Linked DNA regions of Homo sapiens: all the other regions are linked to region 2. Evidence: promoter capture Hi-C in 16 types of primary human blood cells and fetal thymus (Javierre and others, 2016). All regions are on one chromosome and are shown on one strand. Each heading gives the region's core, a stretch centred on a gene start or on the middle of the fragment in contact. The rest is flanking DNA. Distances are from core to core; before and after follow the strand shown. Region 1 overlaps PRKCH (protein kinase C eta). Region 2 holds the start of PRKCH-AS2 (PRKCH antisense RNA 2). Region 3 overlaps PRKCH (protein kinase C eta). Region 4 overlaps LINC03033 (long intergenic non-protein coding RNA 3033). Region 5 overlaps PRKCH (protein kinase C eta).

What was found. The method cuts DNA at HindIII sites, captures the fragments that hold promoters and counts their contacts. A CHiCAGO score of 5 or more calls a contact.
Region 1: a fragment that was not itself captured here is called in contact with the fragment with the promoter of PRKCH-AS2 in region 2 in 2 of 17 cell types (neutrophils and activated CD4 T cells); the score reaches 7.8 in neutrophils.
Region 3: a contact is called between a fragment that was not itself captured here and the fragment with the promoter of PRKCH-AS2 in region 2, in 7 of 17 cell types (neutrophils, activated CD4 T cells, total CD4 T cells and 4 more). The highest score is 19.7, in neutrophils.
Region 4: a contact is called between a fragment that was not itself captured here and the fragment with the promoter of PRKCH-AS2 in region 2, in 10 of 17 cell types (neutrophils, activated CD4 T cells, non-activated CD4 T cells and 7 more). The highest score is 24.1, in neutrophils.
Region 5: a fragment that was not itself captured here is called in contact with the fragment with the promoter of PRKCH-AS2 in region 2 in 13 of 17 cell types (activated CD4 T cells, neutrophils, M1 macrophages and 10 more); the score reaches 20.1 in activated CD4 T cells.

What each region holds. Positions count from the first base shown.
Region 1 is chr14:61,437,662-61,440,361 of GRCh38, reverse strand. The region is part of intron 2 of PRKCH (protein kinase C eta); the gene reads right to left. Among named protein-coding and RNA genes, the nearest start is that of PRKCH-AS2, 110 kb to the left of the region's middle. RefSeq lists an enhancer at 720-1,089. The HindIII fragment of the contact is 9,604 bases long and covers 1-2,700 here.
Region 2 is chr14:61,544,149-61,546,848 of GRCh38, reverse strand. It overlaps PRKCH-AS2 (PRKCH antisense RNA 2), which reads left to right and starts at 1,365. Exons shown (of 3, transcript NR_188139.1): 1 at 1,365-1,755. The region is part of intron 12 of PRKCH (protein kinase C eta); the gene reads right to left. The HindIII fragment of the contact is 1,799 bases long and covers 1,038-2,700 here.
Region 3 is chr14:61,453,544-61,456,422 of GRCh38, reverse strand. All of the region lies in intron 7 of PRKCH (protein kinase C eta), which reads right to left. Among named protein-coding and RNA genes, the nearest start is that of PRKCH-AS2, 91 kb to the left of the region's middle. RefSeq lists an enhancer at 1,490-1,659. The HindIII fragment of the contact is 5,606 bases long and covers 1-2,879 here.
Region 4 is chr14:61,628,366-61,631,111 of GRCh38, reverse strand. The region is part of intron 1 of LINC03033 (long intergenic non-protein coding RNA 3033); the gene reads right to left. Among named protein-coding and RNA genes, the nearest start is that of LINC01303, 59 kb to the right of the region's middle. The HindIII fragment of the contact is 1,090 bases long and covers 806-1,895 here.
Region 5 is chr14:61,473,349-61,476,144 of GRCh38, reverse strand. The region is part of intron 9 of PRKCH (protein kinase C eta); the gene reads right to left. Among named protein-coding and RNA genes, the nearest start is that of PRKCH-AS2, 71 kb to the left of the region's middle. The HindIII fragment of the contact is 947 bases long and covers 920-1,866 here.

The sequences.
Region 1 (2,700 bases), core at 78-2,577, 110 kb after region 2:
TATGTCTCAAGAAGATAAAAATGCCCCTGTTGTCCACCCTGTGGGAACAGTGTCATAACCAATAATCCTGACAGGTTCTAAGGACTGCGGAAGAACAAAAGTTACTACACTACACTGCCCTCTTCCACTCATGATACTTCTAGAAGTCATTTAGAAACCACGAAGTGAACAGATTTTAACATTCCTTTGCTTGCAGATGACAAAATTAGGCTAATGGTATCACTCTCTATCCAGCCTCTGTTATCACCAGCCTGAGACCCAGCTCAATACCGGCCAAAGCAAAACTTGTCTTGAATTATTAATAGTAAACACTTATCATGTATAGATGCAAATTAAGTTCTCCCTGGGGATCTAATTACCAAGAATTAACTTTTTAATCCCTTAATACTACAAAGATTGGTTAAAAGACCAGCCCACTTGCATGTTTAATATTTCATCAACTGAATCCTATTTTTTTTCTTAACAGCTATTGCCACTGCAATTTTCCAGTTGATTCCTTATAACCAGAGGAGGATTTAGGAAAAAACTGCATGCCAATCATTTCTTGCCACCTTCACTCCTGCCTTTTCACCTTCCTAAACGGCCCTTCCCTCTTTCCTTCCAACCATTAAGAGTTAAATTAGCCTTAACCTACCTGCCTCAGAGCCTGAGCAAACTCCCCCAAATCCTAAAGCCGGGTGACATGCTAACCCACTGTTGCCACAGCAGCCTGGGAGTGCACCGGTGACATGCTAACCCACTGTTCCCACAGCAGGCCGGGAGTGCACCTCAATGTCTTCTCTCACGACCTGGGGCCGTGTCTCTTTCACTTCTGCCCCAGGCACTTCCCATGCACTTTCATACAGGGACATGGACAAACTTCACTCTGCCCTTTTACATTATTTTGCACGTGTGCTTCGTTTAGAAAACAAACATACACACTCATGCACCTACACACACACCTGGGACTTTGCAAGACATTTGGTCACATAAAGAAAATGGGCCCCCATGGCTTCCAATGACTTTCACTGTCACCATGTTCTAGACTGCTGCCATGAGCAAAAGGAAACAGCTCTCCCACACGCTCTTCACTTGCCTACAGACTCCAACCCCACTTCACCATCGGAATGCAGAGGGAACTTCCTCATTGTTTGCACCGCCTCCTGTTTACTTAGGACTGAGTTAAAAGGACTAAAAAAAAACCCTATTGAATACTATGGTGCTTAAATCAACCAGGGCTTTGAGAAATCTCTCAGATCATGTTTTAGTTAGACACGTCAGGCAACCCTAACATGCTCTGCAGCCAAAACTTGCATCACAACTTCTGTTTGGCTCCTTAGGTGCCCAATGGCTCTAAATAAATAGGAAGCTGGCTCTGTGTCCCAGCACGGAAATTCACATTCCAATCTCCAGAGGGGTGCTGGCCTGGAGCCCTGGTCTGCCTCACCAGAAGTGGGTTTTGAAAAGCCACCCCATCCACAGGGTGCAGAGTAATTATGTCAAATATAATGAAGATTAACTATTCTAAAATCCCATCTCTTCTGAACTAAAATTATATTTCATAAAACTGGACTGTCACCCCATGCTTGTTTTGAGAACTTTAGAAAGCACATGTGACTAGGAGTCACCAAACAACCCCAGGGTAAGTTTTCATTTGCAAAAAGTTGCACTGGACTGAAACTTGTGTTGGTCATGTGAGGCTTCTGTGGATGAGGAGTATGTCTCTGAGAACTCCTATTCTCGGTTGCTGTGATTCTGTAAACTGTTGTAACTTTAACTCAAAAACAGTAAATACATCATCCTCTTTGGTCTTTTGTTCTATCTGCTCGAATTTATGGTTTTATATCCCAGCAGCAGAAATATATATTTGAAAGTACTTCTAAAATATTCCAACCTGGGGCAAAAGCGTGGATCACAGCTCCTCATTTTTAAAATGATTGTAAGCAAATTAAATCAGAGAAAATTTCTGGCATGGCACTTTTTAGTTTCCAGAATTACTGGCGTAAAATGCACAGCGAATATAACTTTGATTCAGTGTAACATACGATTGAACTCAAGTTTAATTTGCCTAATATCAAAAGCACTGTGGTTTACTGTGGCTTATCTTTAAGGGGGCTACACTGAGAAAACAGAACAGCCTTCTATATGACGACAGACAAGAGAGTTTGGTGGTTGAGGCTGTGGAATCTGGAGCCTGGGGTGTGCAGACGGCTTCTTCCCTTATAAGCTCGGTGGCCCTGGGCAAGTTGTTTAACATCCAATGCTTCAGTTTCCTCATCTATAGAACATAAAGGATATGTTCCTCATAGGGCCATTTGAGGACTTGATAAGTTAATAAGCACAGCATAATTAGAGAAGTACCCGACAGGTAGTAACTTACCTAGTGTAACTGTGAAAACCCTTACTTCACACTACCCTAGAGTTCTAGGAATAGAAAGGATTTTTTTTTTTAAGAGACAGGGTCTTGCTGTGTTGCTAGGCTGGTCTCAAACTCACGGGCTCAAGTGATCCTCCTGCCTCGGCCTCCCAAACTGCTGGGATTACAGGTGTGAGCCATTGCACCTGGTCGATAGAAAGGATTTTTTAATTCAACTGTCTATTGTCTAGAAGAAGAATGAATACCTAGGAAATTGGGGCCTAGAGAAGTTAATGTACCCCGAGACACATTTAGCTAGCTTGTGCTAGAACTGACACTAAAATCTTCCACACACCCTGCACTGT
Region 2 (2,700 bases), core at 116-2,615:
TCAATTTCAAAGACACTGAAGCTAATTTAATTTCCCATATTGAAAGAAAATTGCCTTGGATAAAAAGTTTTGTTTTTGTTTTTATTTAAATCAGGTTATCTTTAAATAGACTCATGACAGTCCCCAAGCACCTCTTTCCAAATCTGATTTGTGAACAACACAAAAGTAATGCTGTGTTTATAAAAATTGTTTTGGAGCTGAATTTACAGAGAAAATCTTGTTGAAGGTGCAGACACGGAAAGACAGTGTTTGGAGGTACCTCCCACTGCCATGCCAGGTGTCCAGAGGTGTCAAGCTGCCAGTGTTGATTCAAATGAAAATGATAATGTTGAAGAAGGAGGCTGCAAAAGTTCCTAAGCAACCTGACGGGATATACCTTGTAAAATGCTTTCAAAAAAGCTTCAAAGGGCAGCTAATAAATGAATATACTGACAGGGTTTAATCGCTTCTCCTCTCTCCTAGTAACAGGAATTAAAGGCCACAGGTGGTTCTGGGTTGGAGGCAGGACCCAAAAGTAAATGCAGCATTCAGAGCTGCACAGGCCCAGTCAGAGCAGCTGCCACTTCAGGCACTTACAGTGGTCACCCAGGATTCAGGAGATGCATATTATAAGTAACTCAGTTCTGTAAGAGCTAGGAGTTAGTTCACACTGCTTGGGCTCTCACTAAGTAAGCCTGTGCAATGCAGGCAGGAAGGGAGAAAATGCTTACAAAAAAGAAATGAGTAGATTCTTGCCTTAGGAAAGTCAACGGGATACAATTCCTGATGGAAGAGCAGTTGCTATTCTAAGAGCTAATTAACAAGAAACAATGCTGCAAAAAACTTGGGAGACAGGACGGCAGAACACACCCAGATGGCCTGTGGGAAATTCCCAGGCCTGCCAATGATGTGAGAGAGGACATCTTGTGAATGGGTGGGTACAGCCTGTTCTTCTGGGCAAGACAAACAGTGCAGGACTCTATATGCCAGGGTGGCTGAAGCCCCAGTGTCCAAGAGGCTTGCCCATTCCTCCCTGCCCCTGGCACTGAACCCAAGCTTCCATGGGGCACTGTGGAAGAGGCCTTGCCTGACGACAAGTAGACCAAACACGACCGTCCGTCCTCTAAAAACTGCACCCTTGGAATTGGGGACAGGCAGAATAACCCTTTCACTAGCTTGATACTTAGCCTCTTGGGGTTCTGATAAATCCTTTTGAATAACCAAGCAGTTTTGTTTTTAATACCTTGGCCTGAGCCCTTTAGATGCAGCCATCCTCAACTTACAAAAAAAACAAACCAAAAGAAAAAACAAAACACACACACACACAAACAAACTTTGATTCAATTGACAAAGGTTTTCAAGGTGTCTACTACATGTAAGGCAGCACACTAGGGGTTTCTTGGGGATACGCAGATGACAAAGACAGTGTCTCTTCATCCAGGAGCTAATCAAGAGAAGGGGGAAGAATCAAGCAAACTTCATAATACACAGCCGGATGAAATGAAAAGAGACTTAGATCAAGTGCTGTGAGAGCTTGGAAGAGGCACGGGGCAAATAACACTGGGGCTGGTGGTGGGAAGGCAAGTGACAGCCTCGTGGAAGAGGTGGCATTTGACCAGAGATGAGGACGAACAGAATTAACATAGTAGGCATGAAGGAAGAAAATGCGCCTGAGGACACAGCCAGCACAAATGCAGAGGCATACAAGTGCCTGGTACAGCTGGCATGCAGGGATGGCTGAGGAACTGCGGGGGCAGCCGGTGGGATCCATCCGAGGTGAGTGATGAGAGCTGCACGGCAATTTAGGGGATGACACTAGCCACAGCGTGATGAATAAATCTTAAATGCAGAGGTAGCGCCTGGTGGTGAGCAGTTAGAGGCTGAGACAATAGCTGAGAACACATGACAAGTTCAGCAACTAGGAGAGTTTCTAGTTAATTGGAAGGAAGAGTTGGAAGCACATTCTAGAGGGCCGTGGAAGAATAAACACAATCCACTAACTGCCGGGAATGGGAGTGAAGAGTCCAAGATCACAGGGTCCTCCCTGGCTGCCTGATGGGGCAGTGGTGTTGAGTAACAGAAATGGAACAAAAGAGGGGCAAGAGATTATTCTTTGTAGCATGAGTATTAGTAGCAGTGTTAGTAGTAGTAGTATTTTTGTTAGTGGAACAAAGACAAAAATAGCTCACACTTACTGAGATCCTACAGTCTGCCAAATCTGGGAGGCTGATGGGCTCCGCTTTGCATTGGAGGTGTGTGGGCACCCACATGCAGATGAATTCTAGGGTAAATCTGGGGTGCAGGCCAGGGCTGGCCATCTAACGCTCAGAGACATTGAAATTTGAGTAACCACTGAAGCTGGGAGGGCAGGTTAGATTGTGGAAAGTGACAGAGACAGACTAGAACTGATACCAGCCCTAGGTCTCAGACACATTTTATTTGGCCTACCTAGTGTGTTTTGAAATAATTTTAATTACTTCTCAAATATTTAAACGCTAGGAAATGTCACATCACATGAAAAGTCAGGTTTTCCAACTTCTCGTGGAAAATGAGATACTCGGGAACACTGGGCCTGCACTCCTCTCATAGAAACGGCCTGGAGTTGAGCAGGGGCTTCTGCTTTTCATGGGGCACCAGATGCCCAGTCAGTCACATGCCCCACCACTCCCTATCACCTCCCACCTGGCTGGTATCACTCACGGACTTTCATGGCTCCTGACC
Region 3 (2,879 bases), core at 124-2,623, 90 kb after region 2:
CTCACAAGGTATTAATTCCCCTGCCATTAGAAGGATGAGGCATCTCCCCTTTTTCACCACAGTGAATAACACTGGAGTGAATACACTTCATGCAAATCTTCAAAACAGAGTAATTAAGGGTCTAGCTCTCAAGCAAGCTGCCTGGATTCAATAACAGCTCTGCAAGCTAACCTAAGACCCTGAGCAAGTTACCTACCCAGCCTCTCCCTACCTCAGTTTCCTCTTCTGACAAAGAGAAGGTTAAAGCATCTGCCACATGAGTCATTAGGAGGCCTAAATGAACAAATGCATGTAAAGCACTTAGATTGGTGCCTGGCACATTCAATAAACTTAAGCTGTATTGTCATTATCATTATTCAGTTTCTTAAGATAACTTCCTGCAAATGGAATTCCTTGGGCCAAAGTGCTAATTTTGAAGACTTCTGATACACAGCCAACTTACCGTCTACAATAAGACTGACCAATCTACACTCTCACCAGCATGATGAGAGTTCTAGTTTCAACACAATGAATGGAAGGTAAGTGTGCCTGCCTCAGTTGGCTTTCCAGTTCCATCCTACTGAGTACCTGAGGATGTTGCTACCTAAAGGCAAGGTGACTTTTGCAGCTGGCCCACCTTGAGACATTTATAAGATAAGCTACCACTAGACAACAGATCAAAAGTCTAACATCCAGCCAGGCACCGGATGTCATGGATTAAGGATACTTGATTCAAATGACAAGTGCACTGTCCATTCCTAAAGATCGTGCTGCATGATCTTTATTCCTATTCTTATCTTATTCCCATTGTATCTCAGAAGCCCTAGTTCAGGCTGATATCTTTAATCTCTGCTCTTCAGGGATAACTGTCCCATGCATTAGCAATCCCCGCACAATATTGGCATCCTGCCCGCCTACCCACAAGACAGACAGACCGGATTTCAAATACATTTTTTTACATAATAGGTTTCAAATACATTTTTTCACCATGATTTGATGAAACCCATTCATCTAAATCACATGTAACAGTCATTGCTGATTTAGTATGATCTAATATAAGGATTAAAACATTTATCGTAGTGGCAATTCAATAAATTGTCAATAGGCCAGGCGCGGTGGCTCAAGCCTGTAATCCCAGCACGTTGGGAGGCCGAGACGGGAGGATGACAAGGTCAGGAGATCGAGACCATCCTGGGTAACACGTTGAAACCCCCCATCTCTACTAAAAAAAAAAAAAATACAAAAAATTAGCTGGGCGTGGTGGCGGGTGCCTATAGTCCCAGCTACTCGGAAGGCTGAGGCAGGAGAATGGCGTGAACCAGGGAGGCGGAGCTTGCAGTGAGCTGAGATTGTGCCACTGCACTCCAGCCTGGGCGACAGAGCCAGACTCCGTCTCAAAAAAAAAAAAAAATTGTCAATGAAAGTCCCTGATCTACTAGGCAGGAGTCCTTCAGTAAAAAGGAAATGAGGTGGTTGGTGCTGACATTTTCAGGATTATCAAGAATCTCACAGTAATTGCACTTCCCTTCCTCAGCACCCAGAGATTAATTAGTTGAGTCGATAATTTTCCTGAACTGGACACCAAGCTACACCGTTCAGATCTTACATGGCTATTTCCCATCTCTAGACGCTGACCAGGAAGGCAACAGTAAGACATGGGCTTGGGAAGCAGCCAAGGCTCAACTGGATGACAGCAGGTGGAGGTCATTCAGGGAGAGTGCTGACAAAAACATGTGCACTGCAACTGACACAACTCCACTCACTCCTGAGAGTCCAGAGGGAGAGACTCCTGTCTCCTGCTGAATGTGAATGATAAATTCACAATCCATAAACCAAAACTTCAGAACTGCTGGACTCCAGGGCTGTGCAGAGCCTCTGAGATCTTCAAGTTGAACCGCTTTAGAGGTGAGGACGCTGACGCCCATAGTTACTGGTCACCTGTCCTGCCTGGTCCCCAGACAAAAGCATAACCCAGGATCCTGGGTTTTAGGCTTTCACCAGACCACAGTGACAGGAAGCTGATTTTAAAACAGAAAAGAAAGGCTGGGCGTGGCAGCTCATGCCTGTAATTCCAGCACTTTGGGAAGCCAAGGTGGGCAGATCACTTGAGATCAGAAGTTTGAGACCAGCCTGGCCAACATGGAGAAACTCCGTCTTACTAAAAATACAAAAATCAGCCAGGCGCGGTAGTGGGCACCTGTAATTCCAGCTGCTCGGGAGGCTGAGGCAGGAGAATTGCTTGAACCTGGGAGGTGGAGGTTGCAGTGAGCGAATATCACTGCACTCCAGGCTGGGTGACAAAGCGAGACTCTGTCTCAAAAAACAAATAGAAAAAAGAAAAAAGAAAAAAAAAAGGAAAGAAAGGAAAAAAGTCCTTCTTTTGCTTTCTGTTTATTACTTGTTGCTCATGCTCATTATTTCTTGTCATATAACTGTATATACAATCTTATCCGTGAAACAAATTGCTATTAAAAATGCTATTTCAGCCAGACACAGTGGCTCACACCTGTGCAATCCCAACACTTTGGGAGGCCAAAGCGAGAGGATCGCTTGAGCCCAGGAGTTTGAGACCAGCCTGCGCAACAAAGTGAGACTCCATCTCTACAAAAAAAAAAATAAAAAATTACCCTGACATAGTGGTGCACACCTGCAGTCCCACCTACTTGGGAGACTGAGGTAGGAGGATCACTTGAGCCTAGGCAGTCGAGTCTGCAGAGAACCATAATTGTGCCACTGCACTCCAGCCTGGGTGACAGAGGAAGACCCCATCTCAAAAAGGAATGAAGACAGGGAAGGGGAAGGGGAAGGGGAAGGGAGGAAGGAAGGAAAAAGGAAAGGAGAGGAAAGGAGAGGAGAGAGAGAGAAAAAAAAGGGAGAAAGAGAGAAAGAAAGAAAGGAAG
Region 4 (2,746 bases), core at 101-2,600, 84 kb before region 2:
TCAGTTAAATTTGAACCTCAGAAAAACAATGTATAAGTAAGTCTCAAATATTTCATGGGCATCATGTTAAGTTTGACTTTGAGGTAAACCACCGATAATTCTTTTAGTACAAATATGTCCCAAATATTGCATAGGACACATTTATATTTAAAAAGATGTTCATTATTTATCTGAAATTCAAATTAAACTGGATGTCCTTTATTTTTTTCCCTCAATCTGGCAACCCTAATGTTAGCTCATGTGGTCATTTAGTATTCTGGCTAAGCACCCAGAATTGGCTCTACACGAAAGTAAGCAGACACACACTAAATGTGATTGAAGTGAGTAACAGACATTTTCTACTTAAAAAATATTCCCCAGTGGGTTTGCAGTTATAGGAGCTGACATTTAATCACTTGAATCATTTATTTGTATTATGACATTTTATCTTCAGAGGTTTTAATTGAAATGCAAATAAAGTAACTCAGAAGGGCTCCTCACATCTTACCTACTACCAAGTTAGAATGGCTTGGTTACTAACCTGTAGCTGTGCTGTCTGGAGCACGTCGACTTAGGTGCTGTGCTAGGGGATGGGGGGCTGGAGAATCATGCCTAGGTTTTGCACTGCTTTACATTTCATTAGCTACAAGTCAGGTGGCCCCACAGAGGGAGGCAAAGCAGTACAGTCTTCCTGTGTCCAGGAGAGGAGAATTGGATACTTGTGAACACAATATAATGTGTTTTCATAGAGCCCTAAAGGATTAGGGAAAACCTTGAATTGTTAGATTTTGATTAGAGAAAATACTAGTGGCAATAATAATAAGCTTTTATATCATATGGCTCCATATTTTGTAATATTTTATTTGAGCACTGAAAAATCCTAGAAGTTACGCAAATATAAGTAGCCTCATTTTACAGATTAAAAATTTGAGATTAAAAATTAGGGGACTTGCTTGAGGTCATAAAGCTGCCAAGAAACAGAATAGAGACTGAACATATATTTAGTGACTTGAGATTTTCTGCATGTTTTACATCAATGGGGCTCAAATTTATTCAAATGACAGAGCCTCTAAGTGTTATGGTGTCCCTTGTGAAACACCTAATTAATTCATTAGGCTATAATATATGTATACAATATCAGAATCATGAGCACATATGTCCATGTCAAAAACTCTCTGCTAAAATAAATATGAGCCATTTGTAAGTTTTTCCATGAATATAAATATAGGAACAACCTCATGAGACAGACACTAGTATTACCTTCATTTTGCAGATAAGAAAATGGCATAAAGAAGTTAAGTCACTGGCCCAGTGTCACAGCAAGAAGTAAAGATTAGCCTCCAACCCAGACTGTCTGACTCCAGAACTCATGTTCTTTAAGCATTATGCCAACATTTTGCCAATGCTGAGGAACAAAACTATAAGAGGGATTCAAGATGAAAAGATTTTAAATGGAGCAAAGATTACACATTAATTCATGTGTGTGTTTGTGTGTGGCAAGAGGTCTTGTAGGACTCCGGTTTATTTGTGCTCATGGAGCTTCGGCAGGTTTTAGAGTTCAGACCGTCCTAGAACCTCACCCATTCATTTTTTCATTCATTCAATAAGCATCTCCTATCAGTAGGCATATTTTTGTGAAATCCTTAGGGATAGAGAGAAGACTAAGATCCAGTTCTTGCCTTGAGAAGAGAGACGGGCAGATAAATAATCACAGTACAGTGTGATCAGAGCTACCCCAGGAAAATGCAACAGTGCCACTGCCACTAGCACACAGAGGGGTGGCAGGCACCTCACCCAACTTGGGGCCAGTGAAGAATAACTGAGGGAAGGTGACACCTGGCCAGGAGTTTGAGAGATGAACAGAAATTAGTTCTGTGAGGCAGGGGTCACTGGTGGAGAAAAAGGGCATTCAAGCTTGCAGGATGGCATCTATAAGAACAAAGCATGACAATGCAAAATGGCCCATCAGAGAGTGCCATTTCACTCAGTCATGTTTAAACAATTGTATTAACCTGTAAAACCACTGTTTGCTACCAAACATCCCTGATTCTTACATCCATCCCCAGACCCCTCCCCTCCCCTGCCACCTGCTATCTAATCCCATAACCAAACATCTCCCATCACTGACCCCAACCCCTGGAGTCTGTATCAGACATGGGGTAAGTTTATGTGTGTGTGAATTAGGTAAGGTTAACATTATTCAATTTTAGTGGTAAAACATCTTAATCCCCCAGTGGTACCCAATGTTTAGAGGAAGACTATTTTGGTCATTTTTGCATTAGAATGCGGGAGAAAGGCATCTGATGCGGTCTGAGTGTAGGGAGTGCACTGGGATCTGCAGCAACTGGCTTTTATTGTCAAATATACCCCACAATGTTGTCTAAGGCTCTTCCCAAGCCTTCACAAAGAAGCAGAGCCCTATTGCCCTGATGTGGGATACATATACCAAAAGCCCAGAAGCCAAGTGACACAGACATCATTTTGTTTAGCAAATGATGGGCAGAAATTCAGGGGTTAGGCAAGCTGCATGGGGAAATGATTACAAAAGAGAGTCAATGAGGCCATTTCAAACTTTCTACCTTTTCCTTCAAGAAAAATTTCACTCCAGCTCTGACCCAAGAAAACACATTTAGCCCAAGCATAATCTTCCAAGTTAAGGCAACCCGTTCTCCTTAGAAACCAGTCTATCAAACCACCTGTTATTACCACAGCATGGCTTTTGGAGAGGGAGGGTGTCTCTCATCCTCTTTTTCCTCTCTCCATCCTA
Region 5 (2,796 bases), core at 144-2,643, 71 kb after region 2:
AACCATTTTACAGAAGCAAAGGGCAAAGAAGTGAAGTACCTTGCCCATAGTTAAAACAGTTTGTGGAAGAGTTAAGTAGGACAATCAGGTCTGCTGATGCTATATTTTCCTTTATAAAGCTTTGATTTTTCTATTTATAAAACTAATTACATATCCATAGTTCAAATGTAATTACAAAGTAAATAGATAGAAAATTGAGAAGAAAATAAAGAAAATTCAAATAAAATCACCCTAATCCTGACAACCAGATATAGAAGTCTCAAGCTTTTAGCTTCCAAAGAACTGGAGATTTCAGGGCAAATAAGAAGTTTTCAAGGTAATGTTAACTAGATTTAATTTTTCCTTTGTGTCCTAATTATACTTAACATTTTATAGCATGTTTTAAAAACAGAAAGGAAAAAGTAAAAAACATACACTTCTCTTTTCATTTATATTGCATATTATTTCCTGATATAATTAGTCATCAAGACCATGATTTTTTTAACAGTTGCATGCTATTCCCGATGCCAGTTCTATGAAGTCCTACAATTAGCTTGACTTCTAATTAGGTTAATGAAAATAAAAGGACACAGCTTTTATAGTCTCTATGCCATGATAAAGATCATTTTTTTAGCCTGGTAAAGCAGGCATCTCTCAGTGGAGATGATTGCTAACTGGGCACGGTGTTTTAATTGATTGGTCAATCATTTAGACATCACTAACCTTTAGAGCACCCCCTAGTGGTCGAGAAGAACGTTTGAACAAACCTCCTAGTCAAAAACTATCCACATTTGAAATACACTAAAACTTAAGAGTCACAAAGAAGATATCTTGGATGATTATCTACTTTTTAAAAAAGGTTTAGCAACTTAACAAAAGCATCCACAATAGGATTTCTTCAAGTCATTATTTCACATAGTGAAATTCTCTTTATAAAGCTTTTGGTTTAAGCATCAAATAGGATATTTATGGACTTAGTTTGTATAGGGCTTGTAGGATAAAGAGTAAAAATACCATTTCATTTATTTAGATCATTTTTCATGATGGAGATCCCTAAACTGTGTAAACTTTTAAGACAACCACAATTTCATTTCTCCCTCTGATCTATGTATGAATTCGACACTTATGCCATGTGGGAAGATATTTTGGGTTATAGTTGATTAGACACTTTGCCCAGTTAGAGAAGTAGAGACTATGGCCAAGAATATGCCATATCTGCCTCAAGGTGATGCCTGGGAATCTACTGGCTGAGAATTCATTTCCTCTCCCCCTGTCTGCAGTGCTGATGCACGGGCCGAAGTTTCTGTGTGGAATGTGCCTTTCACATGCTATTCTGAGTTTGATTCCTCCACTGTAGCCATGACAAACTCTTCTCTGGTCCTCTGGCTGGGGAACAAAATCTGTTCAAGCAAATGACATGCCCACAATTTCTTCCCAAACTATTAAAAAATTTTTTTAAAATTATACTTTAAGTTCTAGGGTACATGTGCACAACGTGCAGGTTTGTTACATAGGTATATATGTGCCATGTTGGTTTGCTGTACCCATCAACTCGTCATTTACATTAGGTATTTCTCCTAATGCTATCCCTCCCCCAGCCCCCCATCCCCTGCCAGGCCCCAGTGTGTGATGTTTCCCACCCTGTGTCCATGTGTTCAACTCCCACCTATGAGTGAGAACATGCAGTGTTCCCAAACCATTTTTGCAATCTGGGTTACATATTGATCTCCACTGTCAATTAAGGAAGAAAGTTGCAGACCTTACTCTAAAGGTATGGAGGCTAAATTAAAAGAGGTGGAGCTCTAACAGGAAGGGGAACAGTCATCAGAAACAGCTTAAAAGGTTTATATGGGAGAAAGCACATTGTGTTAACTTTGAAGGCAAGCTTCAGTTGGCTAAGTGGAGTTCAGACAGGTTCTTAAAACCCCAAAAATGAGCAGATCCTAAGATGGTGACACCAAGAACCTCATGCCGTATCCAATAGAACTCTGAGTCTGTTAGTGAACTGACTTCATCTCAGCACTTGATTTATCCTACTATGAAACCACTTCCTTCTGATTCTTCTTCTTTTTTCCACTCAACCTTAACCCTTACTTAGAATTCCTTCTTCAAGTCTCCTCTCTTCTCTCTCTATAAACATCTACTAAAAGATTTTTGATTTTTTTTTTTTTTAAGACAGAGTCTCGCTCTGTTGCCCAGGCTGGAGTGCAATGGCGTGATCTTGGTTCACTGCAACCTTTGCCTCCCGGGTGCAAGCGATTCTCCCTGCCTCAACCTCCTGAGTAGCTGGGATTACAGGTGCGTGCCACCATGCCCGGCTAATTTTTGTATTTTTAGTAGAGACAGGGTTTTGCCATGTTGGCCAGGCTGGTCTCGAACTCCTGACCTCAGGTGATCCACTCACCTTGGCCTCCCAAAGTGCTGGGATTACAGGTGTGAGCCACTGCACCTGGCCTGAAAGATTTTATATTATAGTTTCCACTTACCAAGAGGACATGGATGACACCAAACTGATCTCCCATCTCAAGTGTGTTTCTGACAAACAAGCATCTTACCACTGAATTTCCCCCAAACCGAACTCATGCTATTCCATTCTCTTTAGGCTTCCAAATGGCCAGAGCCCTGGCCATTCCCACTTAAAAAGTCCTATCATGTCTACTTCTTTAGTGTTTCCTTGACTCCACTCCCATGATTGCTGCCTTGGGGCAGGCAAGTTCCCAGATCACGGGCCCAGCATCCTCACCAGATCTGCTGCCATTAGCCTCCCTCTGTACATAGCAGCCAGAGAGAGCCTTCTAACATGCAAATCTTATGTTA